Regions from separate parts of the Homo sapiens genome. Here region 2 is linked to region 1. Evidence: promoter capture Hi-C in 16 types of primary human blood cells and fetal thymus (Javierre and others, 2016). All regions are on one chromosome and are shown on one strand. The core of a region is centred on a gene start or on the middle of the fragment in contact, and the rest is flanking DNA. Distances in the headings are between cores, read along the strand shown. Region 1 holds the start of ISM1 (isthmin 1). Region 2 overlaps MKKS (MKKS centrosomal shuttling protein).

The links. Contacts are between HindIII fragments. The CHiCAGO score rates a contact against its expected background, and 5 or more counts as called.
Region 2: a contact is called between a fragment that was not itself captured here and the fragment with the promoter of ISM1 in region 1, in 1 of 17 cell types (total CD4 T cells). The highest score is 6.6, in total CD4 T cells.

What each region holds. Positions count from the first base shown.
Region 1 is chr20:13,216,566-13,224,350 of GRCh38, reverse strand. ISM1 (isthmin 1) reads right to left here and starts at 3,077. Exons shown (of 6, transcript NM_080826.2): 1 at 2,437-3,077. The coding sequence starts at 2,574. It also overlaps a transcript of TASP1 not described here. RefSeq lists silencers at 2,646-2,715, 3,175-3,294. The HindIII fragment of the contact is 8,964 bases long and covers 748-7,785 here.
Region 2 is chr20:10,424,206-10,431,990 of GRCh38, reverse strand. All of the region lies in intron 1 of MKKS (MKKS centrosomal shuttling protein), which reads left to right. All of the region lies in intron 1 of LOC128706665, which reads left to right. The region is part of intron 1 of LOC128706666; the gene reads left to right. Among named protein-coding and RNA genes, the nearest start is that of MKKS, 6.1 kb to the left of the region's middle. RefSeq lists an enhancer at 1-374 and a silencer at 3,679-3,728. The HindIII fragment of the contact is 3,279 bases long and covers 1,603-4,881 here.

The sequences.
Region 1 (7,785 bases), core at 1,828-4,327:
TTTGGCAGAACATTCTTCTTTTGACTTATAATACCTTCAGAGAGTCAGAGGGCCAAAGAAATAACTTTGGTCAGGAAGAGTATAAAACTTTTATAATAACAAATTACAAAACAGCAAAATTATGAACTAAACTGCTAAACTCATCATTCTGCTTGGAAAAGTGTGTGCATTGAGTGGACAGTCTCACCGAACACTATTACAAGATAAGCTGAAGCTGGTGGATTAGCAGCTACTTGGGACTCAAGATATTTCTAGGAGCATAACTCTTTCTAAATCCCCCATTTGTTGTGTCCTCTTGGGGCAGTTCTTCAGCCAAAGCCCCTTTTGAGAATTCAGTCCACTTCCCTTTTAGAACTGCCACTTCCACCAGCTGCTTCTCTCATTACCTTACTGTTCAAGCGGAAAAGGCCAACCCCGGGTTATTCTAATGATAGCAAACACCTCATAAAGTAATCTGCCAAATTTACTTTTCCACAGAACATCATTTTTATGGCTTTTCATGAGTCCATGAGGAAAGAAAGCATCATGTATAAAATATAACTTCCAGAAATCTTGAAGATATTAAGAATTATCTCCGCAGTGTTAGATTGGTGGGTGCCCCAGTCTATAGGATGGTGGCATCTTCAACTTCCGCATAGAAATTCCCTCAGTCTGTCACTGTACTTATCTACCCACGGGAGAAGGTGAGAGAACCCACAAAGTTAGGACATTTTTAGAAATGTCTCAAAGTTAAAACAACTTTAAGCTTTGGGGTGTGTACTTTTCTACTGTTTTGTAATTGCGTGCAATAATCACCTTGCTTTAGTCTATCCTGGTAGAGACAAAATTTGGTGTAATCAAGAGTTTGGAATGTCTGAACTTTGACAAGTTTTTTAACCTCTCTGTACCTCAGTTTTTGCATCTGTAAATGAGGCTATATTAACAGTACCATGTCTTGTAAGATTATGGTTAAATTAAGTGAGTTAAATTCTGTAAAGTACTTAAAACGGTGGCACGTAGTAAACACAATGGAAGTGTTTTATTAGTTTTCTCTTTACGGTAAAGTTTTTCGCAATAAATTGTATAAAGATGTAAAAAGTGAATTATCAAAGACAATGAATATAAAGGCCTTTGGGAACAATGAATAATGCTTATTTCATTTTATTTATTTATTTATTTATTTTATTTTATTTTATTTTATTTTATTTTTTTTTTGAGACGGAGTCTCGCTCTGTCGCCCAGGCTGGAGTGCAGTGGCGCGATCTCAGCTCACTACAACCTCCCGGGTTCAAGCAATTCTCCTGCCTCAGCCTCCCGAGTAACTGGGACTACAGGCGTGCGCCACCACGCCCAGCTAATTTTTGTATTTTTAGTAGAGACGGGGTTTCACCATGTCGGCCAGGATAGTCTCCAACACCTGGCCTGAGGTGATCCACCCGCCTCTGCCTGCTAAAGTGCTGGGATCACAGGCGTGAGCCACCGCGCCTGGTTTGAGCAGATTTTAGGAGCCAGAGAATCCCCTCTGCCTCCTGGGAAAATCCCTGCTTGCTTTTGCCTATGCTCCAAGTTTACAGTTGTCCCACCCCTAGACTCAAGGAAAGGCGCTAACATAGCGGCAGGAAATGCCTAGCTGGGCAATTCTATTCCTAAGTCAGAACTCACATTATGTCTGACCGTCCACTACGCCCTCTCCTTGCCCTGAAGTTGAAATGGATAAACAGAATCCCATTGCTAAAGCGACCTTCAACGGGGAAGATCCTTGGGAGAAAGACTTTGCTACAAGTTTAAAAGCCCCAGGTAACCCTGGCCCAAATCACTACCGGTGCCTTCACTCTGCACCTTCCCCATGACCAAGGGGGCACAAGGGGGGAGGGGGGAACCTCAGGCGAGGCTCCCGGAGGAAGAGGAACACTGGAAGCAAGGGAACCCTGAGGGTGAGGAGGGGATGCCTGGCTATTCTCCTTGGGAAATTATGTCCTGACCTTTGGCATTGCTTCCTAAAGGGGTAGACTCCCGGAGTTCTTTCTCCCAAAGACTTCAGGGATATCATCCTATAAAGTCTCCTTGCGTCCCTCCAGCCTCGAGTAACATTACTCAGCCTCCGAAGGGCAACGAAAGACTGGTAGCACCCCCAAGCAAGCACATTCTCCACACTTCCTCTGCTCATCCCAAACCTCGCTCCTTCCCACCTCCCCACCAACCCCGCACCTGACCCGTGACAGACAGAACTGAAGGAGCGCAGCCCGCAGACCTGGAAGCCGGGTGCAGCCTCCAGGCACGTGCCCCCGCTCCGCCTCTGCCTAAGTCAAGTGGCCCGGGCAAAACTACTGCCAAAACAGTTGCTCTTAGGTGGGGCAGGGGACCTGCCTCCCTGCATCCACCCGGCACTAGCTCAGCACCCCCGCCCCACAAACCGTCCCCGCAGCCGCGCACGGCCCTCTCCGGCGGCGCACTCACCTGCAGCTGGGCTTGGCTGGCGTTGCCCGCGGCCGCGTCGGGCCCGTCGGCGGCTCCCGAGCCGCGCAGCACGGTGATGTGCAGCGTGAGCAGCAGCAGCCCCAGCAGCAGCAGCAGCTCGGCCGCCAGGCGCACCATCCTTTTGAGACGCGCGGCTTTAGGACCCGGCGCGGCGGCCGGCGGCGGCGGCGGTGACGCCGGGGGAGGAGGAGTAGGAGCCCGGGAGCCCGGCAGCGCGGCTCCCGCCTCGGCTCCCGCCAGGGCTCCGCTTCCCGGGCCCGCGGGGCTGGCGCTGGGCGCGGCGGGGTGTGCGGGGCCGGGGGAGCAGGAGCTGCCGGCGCCGCCGCCGCCGCCGCCGCCGCACCACGGCGGAGCCACCGCGAGGCCGGGGGTGTCCAAGCCGGCTGCGGAGCAAGCCCCGGCGCTGCCTGGCGGCGGCGGCGGCGGAGACGGAGACTGGGTCCCGGGACAGCCCGGGACCCGGGCCGGGCCGGAGGCCACCCTGCTGGCAGGGGGCTGCGGGGTCGGCGGCGGGGCGGGCGCAGCCGAGCCCCCGAGCGCACATGGGCGCCCCAGATGTGGCCGCGGCGCCGCAGCTGGAGCGGGAGCGGCCGCCAGAGAAGCGCGGGGAGGAGGAGGAGGAGAAGGAGAAGGAGGAGGAGGAGGAGGAGGAGGAGGAGGAGGAGGAGGAGGAGTAGGAGGGCTTCAGCTGCGGCCGGGAGTTACCTCCACGCTTGGCGCCCCCGCCCTCGCCGCCCCGAGCCACTCACCCGGCAAGCCACCTCCACTACTCTCCGCGCTCCTCGGGGCCGCCTGCCGCGCCGCCCCGCACTCGGAGTCCCGGGGAGGGCCGGTTCCAGATGGGGGCCCCGGGCACACCGAGGTTGTCACGGTTTGGCGGTAGCCGGGGCGCCCTCGGCGGCAGCGTCAGCCTGCCGGGCTGTACCAAGTGCCCGCTGCCGAGGTCGCTGTGACGGGCGCGGGTAGAGCCCTTGTGCACACTGAGGCTCGGGGCTGTGGGTGGGTGGGGTGGTGCCTGGGCTGCTTTAGAAACCTTTATTGGCAAACTGGAGCTGGAGTTGCAGTGATGGAAAACGGAGGGGGCGCCGGACAAGCCATGCGTCTGCCTGCGACCCCTGCCTGAAGCAGTCGGGGGAGAGGAGGAGTGCCAAAGTGTCGTTCCGAAGGGTCTTGACACTTGCTGGGCCGCCCGCTAGCCGGGCACGGCTGTTCGCGGATCCGCGGCGCCCCGTAGAGCCTGGGAAGGGAGGGGAGTCCGACTCTCTAGGCGTTCGTCTGGTCACGGGCGCAGGTGTTGGCTGGAAGCTGCAGAGACGCAGTGCCCGCGGCTCAGGCGCTCAGGAACTCGGAGTGAATCTCAGCTCTAGTGGGCTTGCCTCTGTGGGGGGCTCATCCCGGGGGTGCCGCGCCCAGAGGGGATTTGGGGGCTGGCGTCGCGCAGCTGTCGATCCCGGGCCACCGCCTCATGACCGCGCTGCAGCCTCGGGCTCCCGCGTGCGGCTCATGCCTTGCAGTGGGCGGTTGGCGAATGGAAGGGCTCTGGGATCCGGCTGAGGGCGCGGAGTCCGAGCGTCAGATGCTAGAGCGAACTGTGTCGGTCCGTGGCACCGCGCACTTCCCTCCTTGACCTTGCTCGGGCTCCCGCCTTACCGAAGTGACTCGGAGTAGCGGACGCTCAGTCCGGCCGGGACTTTTATACTGCGCTTCCCCTCCTCCTACCCGTTCCCTCCCTTCCTCCTCCCCAGCGCCGGCCCAGCCCTTCCCTCCCAGCGAGCCAAGACCTAGTCCACGCGTTCGCACACAGCCGCGTCGCACATTTCCAAGCCTTTCCCGCGTCCCGGACCCCAGTGCCTCCGGGATGGAGCCTCCGAATTCTCCCTTGGTGAATGAAATTAAATAAATAATCAACTCTTTCTTGACGGCACGCCTCCCTTTCCCCCTCCCCAATTTCCTACCTTCCTTCTCCGCGTCCTAGAAAGATTTAAGATTCTTAATTCAACTGCTTTCGAGTTCTCGCAAGGCATCTCAACCAAGTATTAACCAAATTAAGGCAAACCCTTGCGCCTTTGCGAAGGTTCCTCCGGTCACCGCGGTACTTTGCAGAATTTAAATAGCGGTAGTTAAGGTAGGGTCTGCTGGTTGGGCTTATTTGTGCCCGGGAGAGGAAGGGCTTGCTGCCTCCTTAAAGATGCCTGAAGCATCTTTAAAATTCTAACTAACTCCAGCATCTTATTAATAAATTGGCAGCTGTTTATAGAGTCTGCTATATTTTTTCCTTTTCATTATTTTTTTTTGGGTGGGGAACGGTGCGAGGGAGGAGGGGAGATGTTTGGAGGGGTGCTTGCTTTGGATTTTTAGGCAGCCGGGCCTGTCAGACATCTTATTTCTATCTCTAGGCTCTAAAATGCCAATAATTGTCACTGGAGTGCGGGTCGGGGGGAGTGGGGGGAAACGCGAAACAATAACCGTCCGTATTTCAGATGGGAGATCAAAGAGGGGATCCCAGCAGCTTTTAAATCCTGGAAGGATCCTCCTGTGTGTTTTCTAATTAGGATCACTTAAAAGGGAAAGGGCTGGAGAATCAGCGCCGAAATAGAATGTATAAATTAAGATGGCAAACTAGAATCCCACAGCCAAAGAGTTTTAAGGATTGTTCTAACCTCCAGTTGTGCCAGATTATGATACGGGCTCGCAGGAACAAATGACTTTCCTATTGCCAGAGGCAGGCTGGTCTGAATTAGGATCCAGGGGCCGCTGTGTCCTGCCCTTTCATCACACACAGTCTCCACATGTAAACCTCAGCTGCTTCTCCTCTCATCTAAAAGTAACAGTTTTGGACCCAAGGCAAAAATGACCTTTAAAAAACTCTGGAAAGAAACCTTTGCAATGAATGTAAATTCTTGTAAAATAATTTGTAAATGGAGATTTGGAGATCAAAGTCTTTGTAAAATGTTGTAAAAATTGTAAATTGAATTTTGGGGACAGATGTCTTTATAAAATGTTGAACAAATGTATGAATGAATCCTATTAAAATCCCTTCACGCTGAGAGATCCCCATTCCAGGTGAATTTATGTTCCAGTAAGCACATATAACGAGTATTGATAAACACCCACGCTCTGATTCCAGTTGCCGAACCAGGCTTGCCAGCAGGGCTCTGTTTTTGAGTTAGGGAACACGGGCTTACAATTTTTGTGGAAAAACAATTACAAATTTAATAGACTAAACCAATTAAGTTTCAAGCACATTTATGAAATTGTACCAATAGCTGATAAAAATGTTTAAAATCCTACCTCCTTCAGCAGAGCGTCCAGAGCACCCTATTCATATCGTTATTACTGATTTTATGACACTTGGGGCACTTGTGTCTGTTTGCATGTCTGTTTTCCCACTAGACCTTGATTGGGATCACCTTTGTGGTAGAACATTTCAGAGCATCGCCCCACTCCCCACCTCCATCCCAGTATCTAGTTTTCTTTCTGGGTTCATGGCTATGAGACATTTTCTAGGTATACTTGGATCTAGGTTTGGGCTGTGAAGAGCTTTTTTCCTTCCAGGTTGACCATAAAACATCCTGAGTGATTATCTGCACACACTCTCTCTTTCCTTTTTTTTTTCTTTTTCATTCATTCATTCTTTTTTTTTTTTTGACAGAGTCACTCTGTCACCCAGGCTGGAGTGTAGTGGTGCGATCTCAGCTCACTGCAGCCTCTGCTTCCCAGGTTCAAGCAATTCTCCTTCCTCAGCTTACGGAGTAGCTGGGATTACAGAATCCTGCCCCCACGCCTGGCTGATTTTTGTACTCTTTAGTAGAGAGAGATTTTCACCGTATTGGCCAGGCTGGTCTCAAACTCCTGACCTCAAATGATCCACCCGCTTCGGCCTCCCAAAGTGCTGGGATTACAGGCATGAGCCAACGTGCCCAGCCCTCTCTTTCCTTTCTACATGGCAAAGGACTCTGAGGTGAAAGGAACTCAAATTGAGTTACTGCTCAAAAGAGAAAAATTGGACCAGGAATATCTGCATTGAACCTTGAGCAAGTGAGATAAAACTTTGTTCATAGACATTGTGATGTAGGGATGTTTGCACAGCAGCTGGTATAATAGTATATACATCCTGACAAGTATAATCTTTGAGACAATGCCTTGCACAGAGTAATTCTCAATTAGTGTTTTTAAAATGCATGTAACAAATCTGGTATTTGTTTATACCCCAAGTAATAGATTACCTTTCCTAGGAGTGCTTGTACTATAGGTGTCTGACATTAACTTTTATAACCATTCTGCCTCTTGATTGTACTATTCTCACGTAGATTTTGTCTTTCATTATTGGTCCCATTTATCTTACAGGCAGGCTTATTTGACTGGAATATTTTAAGGAAGTAAGAGAAATTAATAAGCCAGAACACCTGTAGTTACTATCATTGCAGAGAACCTTGTGGCCTATTATGACTAGGATTTTATTGTTTTTATTTTATTTTGCCAAAGAGTGGTACAACATAGCAAAGAGTAGTTTCAATGTAATCCTTAATTTTTTTTACTATGGAAAGTTTTTAATATATACAAAAGTAAAGAGAATAATATACTAAATCCTTACTCATAAGCCAGCTTCAACAAAACTTATGGCCAATCTTGTCTTACCTGCATTCTCAGTATTTTCAAAAATTTCCTCCGTTTCAGATTATTTTAAGCAAATTCATGATATGTCATTTCATATGTACATATTTCAGTATGCATCTCAAAAAGGTAAGGGCTCAATTAAGCAATGTTTTTTAAACACATGCATATTGAATCTGAGCTTTAAAACAGATTTGAGAAGTCACAGCCAGAGACGTTTTCTGGGTGTGAGAATGATTAGTATTTAGGGATTGTGGTGGAGGCTGTTCTGTGTTCCCCAAAACCTGTTTCTTCCTGGGCATTCTAGTACACTTCATTTCTCAGTATCCTATGCTCGTGACTGAATTCTGGCCAATAGAATATGGGTGGATTAATGTGTGTCCCTTTCAGATCTAGCCCATAAAAACTTCCTGTTCATGATCTTTTCTTTTTTACCCCTGTCTGCTGGCTGGATGTTTTTGCCCAGGGTAACCTTAGAGCAATGATCAGTCTGGGTCTCTGGAGCAGAGTCCCTACCTGACCCCTACGTTTGCCCAAGAACACCCTGGCTGGGCTATTGTGTAATTGAGAAATAAACTTTTTTAAAAAATGTGTGAAGCCATTAAACTTTTGTGGTTTGTTCCAGGAACTTTCATTACCCTAACTAGGGGGCAATGTTCTGAGGCTGGAGGGATGGCAAACTTTTTCTTTAGAGGGCAAGATGTTAAATATTTT
Region 2 (7,785 bases), core at 1,993-4,492, 2.8 Mb after region 1:
ATCACAGCATTCATCACAAAGGTAGGGCTTTGAAGGAATCACGTGCTAGAGAATAATGGGGAGGGAGAGGGAAAACACTTTAGGTTGAGTGCTGAGAGAAAGGCTCTCTGAGTAGGTGACATCTGAACTAAGAGCTGAAGCAGAAGAATAAGCCATCCTCTGTGGACCAAAGGGGACAAGATTCTCTACTTTTCTGCTACGCACTAGGAATATAGCAGAGAAGACAAGTGGCTGCTACCTTCTGTTATCGTGGGTGGCAGTGACTAGTTTTTCTAGATCTTGACTCCCTGCCGTAACTAAAGATGGAGTAAGTAAAAATGGATTGAGACTAATTCAGAGGAGGATAGAGGAAAAAATGAGAACTATGATTTTGAAAAATGAGTCAACTTGGTAAAGACTTTATGCAGTTTTTTGTGCGGGTTTGGTTTGGTTTGGTTTGGTTTGGTTTGGTTTGGTTTGGTTTTTTGACCCTATACAGCATTGAGTTATGTTTTATTAAGATTGTCCCATTATCTTCTCAAACCTGTATTCTCCTTGAGGACAAGAATCATGCCTTACTCTTCTTGGTAGTTCCCCCCTGAGGCTAGTAGTCTTGCTAGCACCTAATAGACACTAAGTGAGCATTTGGATAGAATTAATCTTGTACATATTTGAAGTGAAAATTGCTAATCCCTAAATATTGTGAATGTGGGATACATGACTGTGTTTGGATTTGTCTTTACAGTATTTCCTCACCTTATAAGTTGGAACCCAATTTTAGTCAAAATATTCGATGATAATATATAATTGCTTTGATCAAGCAGGAACCTCCAGGGGTGCCTATTTTTATATATGATTCGTATAAGATAATATACTCCCAATAAAAGTAATGGCTGCCGTGTATTGAGCACTTCCCACATGCTAGGCACTGTACTAAGCTATGAATGTATATAGTTCTCTTCATAATGTGGCCCCCTATTTCAGATCATGACATTGAGGCAGGAGAGAAGTAATTTGTCCAAGACCATAACTAATTTGTGGTGGAGGTTAGACTTTGATTCTCGCCATTACTCAATGCTTTTGCTCTTATGTAAAACGTTGTTTCAGACCAACAGCGTGTCTGAAAATGTCGACCAAGTTTCAGTCATTGTAGGATTCTCACATTTGATCACTTGGCTGCTCTATTAACTGTTATTAGAGAAACATACATGAAATTTTTCACCGTCTTTGCTTCTTTGCTCTGTATCAGTTTTCTGACTTCCTTCACAGCTTTCCTGGCTCTCACTTTAGAAGCTTGACAGTTATCTGTCCTATAATATCCTAGAATCTAATTACCAGATTCACTACCCTAGTCAAACCCCAAAGACCTCTGAACCTCTCTGTTGAGACTGGGTATTTTTATTCTTAGCTAACTAACTGAAACTGCCCAGAGAAGTGGGCCTTCCTTTATGGGGACCACTTCCCTTAGTTTGGGCATTAATTCTAATCCTCTCCAGTTCTTGCTATACTACAGGTTAATTCCAGTAATGTTTTTTTTCTTTTTGACATAATCAAAATAATAATAGCTAACAATTACTGAGCCCAGACAAAGTGCCAAGTATTGTGATAACTGCACAGCAAGCTTATGATATGGATGTTATTATTCACATTGTACACACAATGGAACTGAAGCACAATGAGATTAAGTGACTAATCCAAGGCCACACAGCCAGTTGTAAAGTGGTAAGTGAAGATTCAAAGCCAGGTGGTATGAGTCCACAGCTCATCCCTTAATCACTACATGACAATGCATTCTTACAAAAATGATTTAAAGTGCTTGACTTTCTGAAAACTGGTAGGCAGGATCTAGATCCTAGTGGATTTTTCTTTCTGCTGTACTAAGAAATTTAGATTTCACTCTAGTCAAAAATGTCACTAAAGGCTTTTAAGCAAAGCAGGAATACAACCAGATTTGTTTTTGTTTTTGTTTTTTTGTTTTTTGTTTTGCAAGATGGCTATATTAAAAGTGTAGAGAATGGATTAGTGGATGTAGACTAGAACAGTGGGTCTCAAACTTTAGCTTCAGAATTACCTAAAGAATTAATTAAAACACAGATTACTGGACCCCACCCTAGAGTTTCTGACTCAGTAGGTCAGGAGGGGCAGCTTGATAATTTGCATTTCTAGTAAATTCCCAAGTGTTGCTAATGGCACTGTTGAGAGGACCACAGTTTGAGAACTACTGGAATTGAAGCAAGGAGGTCATGTGAGGGCGCGAGGGTCTGGACTGTGACCCTAGGGAGGAGGGATTATGTAAAGAAACACTTATGTCAAATGGCAGGATGTGCTGAGTGAGTTGATGAGGAGCATGAGGAAAAGGGCAGAGTCCAGTATATCCAGATTTCTGAATTGAATGGCTTAGTAGATGATGCTTTTTGTTAACGAAACAGGAAATCCAGGTGGAACAGCAGTTTGGGAGGGAAAGAGGACTTATTTTTATATGAGATGAATTGAGACTATTTGTGGGGACGGTTAGTTCAAAGGTGTACAGTAGCAGTTTATTATGTGGGTCTAAGCTGGAGATGAACGTGTGAGAGCCAGAGTGGATGCATGATCATAGAAGTTTGGGGATTGAATGAGACCGCCCAGGAAACAAACACTACCAAAGACAGATCTTTGATAAGGATGAATAGGTGGATGGAAACCAGCAGGCTATTAAAGGAGACTAAGAAGGAACAGTATAGAGTCCTGAGTACTTAGGAGTCTCAAGAACACATCAAAAGGCTACAGGGAGATTATGTAAGGGGAAGGATTGGTGATCTTTATGGTCAGAACACTTTCCATGGAGAATGAAACAAAAGCAGATTGCTTGGGTTTGAAGATGGAATGGGAAGTGACTAGGAAAAGATGCATTATTTGAAAGGAAAGAGATTGTGTAGTACTGGGAAGGAAGATGGTAAAGGGCAGTTGCCTTAGGGAATTTGTTTTTGACTCTTTTCAGTGGAGAAAAATAGTCATAGTTATGCAAAAGAGAAAGGCCCTTAAGAGTGGAAGGTTGGAGGTAGATGAGAGGGGATAATGAAGTTAGAACCCCAAAGACACAGTAGAAAGTGGGACTGGAACACAGGTAATAGGAATACCAGTTCTTCTGACAGCAGGCAAGGAGTTTTATTTATTTATTTATTTATTGAGACGGAGTCTTGCTCTGTCACCTAGGCTGGAGTGCAATGGCGCGATCTCGACTCACTGTAATGTAACCTCTGCCTCCTGGATTCAAGCGATTCTCCTGTTTCAGCCTCCCAGGTAACTGGGATTACAGGTGCACCCACCACATCCAGCTAATTTTTCATATTTTTGGTAGAAATGGGGTTTCACCATCTTGGCCAAACTGGTCTCAAAATCCTGACCTCAAGTGATCCACCTTCCTCAGCCTCCCCGAGTGCTGGAATTAGAGGCGTGAGCCACCGCGCCCAGCTGAAAGAAGATTTAGTTGAGAGCTAAGGTGCACATAAGGGGACAACAAGTTAGAGGTGTTCATACCTAAAGAGCTATAATGTCCTCTGGCCAATAGGTTATCTGCAGAAATGAAGGTGGAGCATACAATTAAAATCTTGAAAATGATGAAGGGTAGAAATGGGCTCTTTAGGGATTCAGAACATACCAGGAACATAAAGTGTTTGCTGTAGCACTAAAGGCCCATTCATCTAGGTATCTGATCTGGAACAATCTGGCTATCTGCATGATACCTACTCCCCTCTCCTCCACCAATCACCAGCATCAAATGGCAGCCAGGGTGTAAAAACAGTGAAAGGGGACAGGATTCTCAGACAACTCTATAAACCACTACAACCATTGTGATAAACCACAGCTTGCTGGTAAGCTAGTTTTCACTTCTCATTAGTTGTTAATCACTTGCTTAATATTTGAGACTGCCTACAATTAGTGAAACCCCCATATAAGACTTATGATGCTTTCAGTATATTTTTTATTTACAAATACATTAAATTCACAGCAATGAGCAGGGAGGAATAGCAAAAGACATAAGATACTTACGCATACCTGTTTCGGCCTTCTGACTGCAGATCCACTCCTGACTCAGTTACGCTGTTAGCAGCCCAGCTCTTGGATATAGGTCAAGCTGACCTTGAATGGTTTGGTGGGGAAGGTGGTAGGATTTGCAGAATGGAAACTTTAGAACTCAATTATGATCCATGGGTTCATTAAGAATTACAGTATTGTTTTTGGGGTGTGTGTTTTTACAAGACTGGAGAAGTCCAGCAAAATGAGTGTTATTTTAGGTGATATAGTTGGAAAAGAAAAAGGAAAACGATTGTTCTGTTTACCATGTCAGTTCATTTCATAGCACAGTTGAAGACCACGTGCAGTCTTTTCTATTGTGTACACAGAAAAAATGCCACAATTCAAACTGCTGTATTAAAAATTGAGGATAAAAAATAACTTTTGAATGTTGATGATGAGAATTCAGAAATGAAGAATTCACAAATACCTAAAGCCAACATTGTCATTGTAAAAGAAAAGGCATAGTACAATTCCAGTAAACTTCATAAAGTTTCATTATCACAAGAGCTGGGTTAATTGGTTTTTAATATTCTATCTAATGTTCTTCTCATGATTAAATTACATTCAGTGGAAGTTTTTAAAAATTACAATTTTTTCAAATCACAACAGCAATTAAGACCAAAAAGAATCCGTTTTACACTGTGTCCAAAAGGCCAGCAGATGGCGCCCAGCAAGCCCAATAGGCAAAATGAGAACATTTGATGTAACATTCCCTGCATCCAAGTTATTTTAGGCCTAATTTTGCAGGAAGCAATTAAAAAAACTTGATGGCTTTAACTAATACTATGCTAGATAGAATAATCTGATGGCTAGATCCAGCTGTTTGGGAAGTTCTAGGAAGCTTGCTTGCCTTTTTGCCCTTAACCTTACTTTGTGTGTGTGTGTGTGTGTGTGTGTGTGTGTGTGTGTGTGTGTGTGTGTGTCAGTGTTTTCTTTTCTTGGCCTTTAAGCTACTCTAAAAGATTACAGTATTTATAATGAGGTAGAAGCATAGCAAGTTCTCCCTCTTCTGTTCATTAATCTCTTGCTGTCATTCTATACTGAGAACTAAATTAAAGAAAACTGAACTAACCCAGCTAATCTCAACCATTAGTAGGTCACGGATGTGTTTTTGGAGGATATAGACTCTTTTGCCCTCTAATTTTTTTGTTTTTCTTACCTCCAGAACTGTAAGATGCCCTCTAATTTTGGACAAGTGAAATGACAGCTGTTAACCTTTTATATACCTGACATGAAAATCAGCCAAGGACATGCCACGGGGCGTGCATGGCTCATGCCTGTAATCCCAGCACTTTGGGAGGCTGAGGCGGACATATCACTTGAGGCCAGGAGTTGAGACCAGCCTGGGCAACATGGTGAAACCCCGTCTCTACTAAAATACAAAAATTAGTCGGGCATGGTGGCGTGGGCCTGTAATCTCAGCTACCTGGGAGGCTGAGGTACGAGAATCCCTTAAATCTGGCATGCGGAGGTGAGCCGAGATCACACCACTACGCTCCCCCTTGGGCAACAGAGTGAGACTGTCCCAAAAAAAGAAAAAAGAACAACATGCCAGGCATGATGCCCCAAGCTAGTTGACCTCAGTGATCCTCAAGGGTGTGCCTCACGCCCTCCAAATGTTCCCCTCATCCGTGATCACACACTGGAAATCCTGATAGACAGTACTGCCCAAGCTGGGGCACTAATTCTTGACTTGAAGAATTGCTTAGTAGAGTACTAGGCAAGACTTTAAAGACTTCACATCTAAATTGAATGCCACAGTTAACTGACAGTAATCTTAGAATCAATCATTTAATGTTTCTTCATTTATAAAATGATCTCATAAAGTTGCTATGAAAGCAAAACAAAATGAAAAATATGAAACTTTTGAATAATTTAAGACCATACTTTTGAGAGAAGAATATGAAAAGCATAATCCACATTAAGATTGCCTCTAAACTTTTTCTAAACTTAACAAAAGACATTTTAGTAAATGAAACTATAAATATCAACTCTATTTTACTTGATCTAAAATTTACTAATCTCATTTCATGTCTCTTGATTTCTCTATCCTTCTAAAGGAGTCTTTTTTTAGAAATATGTTTAAAGAAGATTCAGGAAAGAAAGAAAGGGCAGTGGCAAGTACATTAGAGGGTAAGGAAGGGAAAAAATCTCATTTCTCTTGTTGCTTTGCTCCAAACTTGAAAAGTTCAATAAATGAGCATCAAACACTAACTTATTTTAGGGATTAACCAGTTACTGCTCATCAAATCTGATCATTTTGAGCTTATTCTTGAGAAATCTTTGTTTTAGACTCAGAATCTCTACAAGACAGTCCATGCCTCTTGGAACAACTTGCCAAGTGTTTTGAGGGAAGGACCATCTCAAGGCAAACTGTAAATAGCTTAAGTTTGTTTCACAAATTGGATCTCCCAGTCTGTCTGCTTCTCAGTATCATGAACCTTTCTAAAAGTCAAGGTTTTAAAAACTTTCTTGTCAAGTTCATTTGAAAAATGAGTTAATTTTTAAGAAATTTGTTAATTCTGAAAAGCAGCACATAGAGGCTTTGAGCATGGACTCTGGAGTATTTACACAAATATTTATTGCCATAGCATATTTTGCAATAAAGCATTGAAAAATCTCAAATTTCTTTCAATCACAGATTGGTCAAATTAGGATATCGCCATTATAATCAAATGCTGTATAGCTCTTAAAAATGATAATGGAGATTTATATTCTTTGCAAGAGGGATTACAAAACAGCATGTGTATCATGATCACATTTTTGTTACACCCAAAAGATTTTAGCTCTCTTTTCCTTGTTTCTATATTTGCTAACTTTAAAAAGTAAGGTTATACTATACTATATTTATTAGAAAAGAACAGTAATGCTAATTTTCTTTCTTTCTTTTTTTTTTTTTGAGACGGAGTTTAGCTCTTGTTGCCTAGGTGGGAGTGCAATGGCATGATCTTGGCTCACTGCAACCTCCGCCTCCCAGGTTCAAGTGATTCTTCTGCCTCAGCCTCCCGAGTAGCTGGGATTACAGGCGCCTGCCACCACACCAGCCTAATTTTTTGTATTTTTAGTAGAGACAGGGTTTCACCATGTTGGCCAGACTGGTCTCAAACTCCTGACCTCAGGTGATCCACCTGCCTCGGCCTCCCAAAGTGCTGGGATTACAGGCATGAGCCACCGTGCCCTGCTCTAATTTTCATTTTGTAAAAAACCACAGAGGAACTAAGAAGAAAAAAAGTGCTAAATTTAAATTGTATCCCCAAAATATGTTTGATTGTAAGTAAAAGCTCTGCAAGAGTTTATAAACAAAATAAATAACACATTACCTCGCTAACTACCATATCAAATATAAAATTTGAAAACTATTTTTTTTTTTGTAAAACTAGCAATGAGCTTTGCTAGTAAGGTATAGTAAGGTCTAATGTGTCTTGCCCTGAGAAGAGGTTATGCAGGCAATAGAATACATCCAATGTACTGGAGATTTTTCACTATTAAGTGAAAGAAATGAAGTAGTTTAAAGTTATATGCCAATGTCATTTTTTAAAAATATATGTTTTTTCTTTTAAAATAGAGATGAAGTCTCACTGTATTGCCCAGGCAGTCTCGAACTCATGGGCTCAAGCAGTCCCCCTGCCTGAGCCTCCTAGAGTGCTGGGGTAACAGGTGTGAGCCACTGTGCCTGGCCTTTTTTTTTCCTTTTTATTTAATATATATTTTTTTCTTTTAAAATAGAGATGAGGTCTCATTATATGC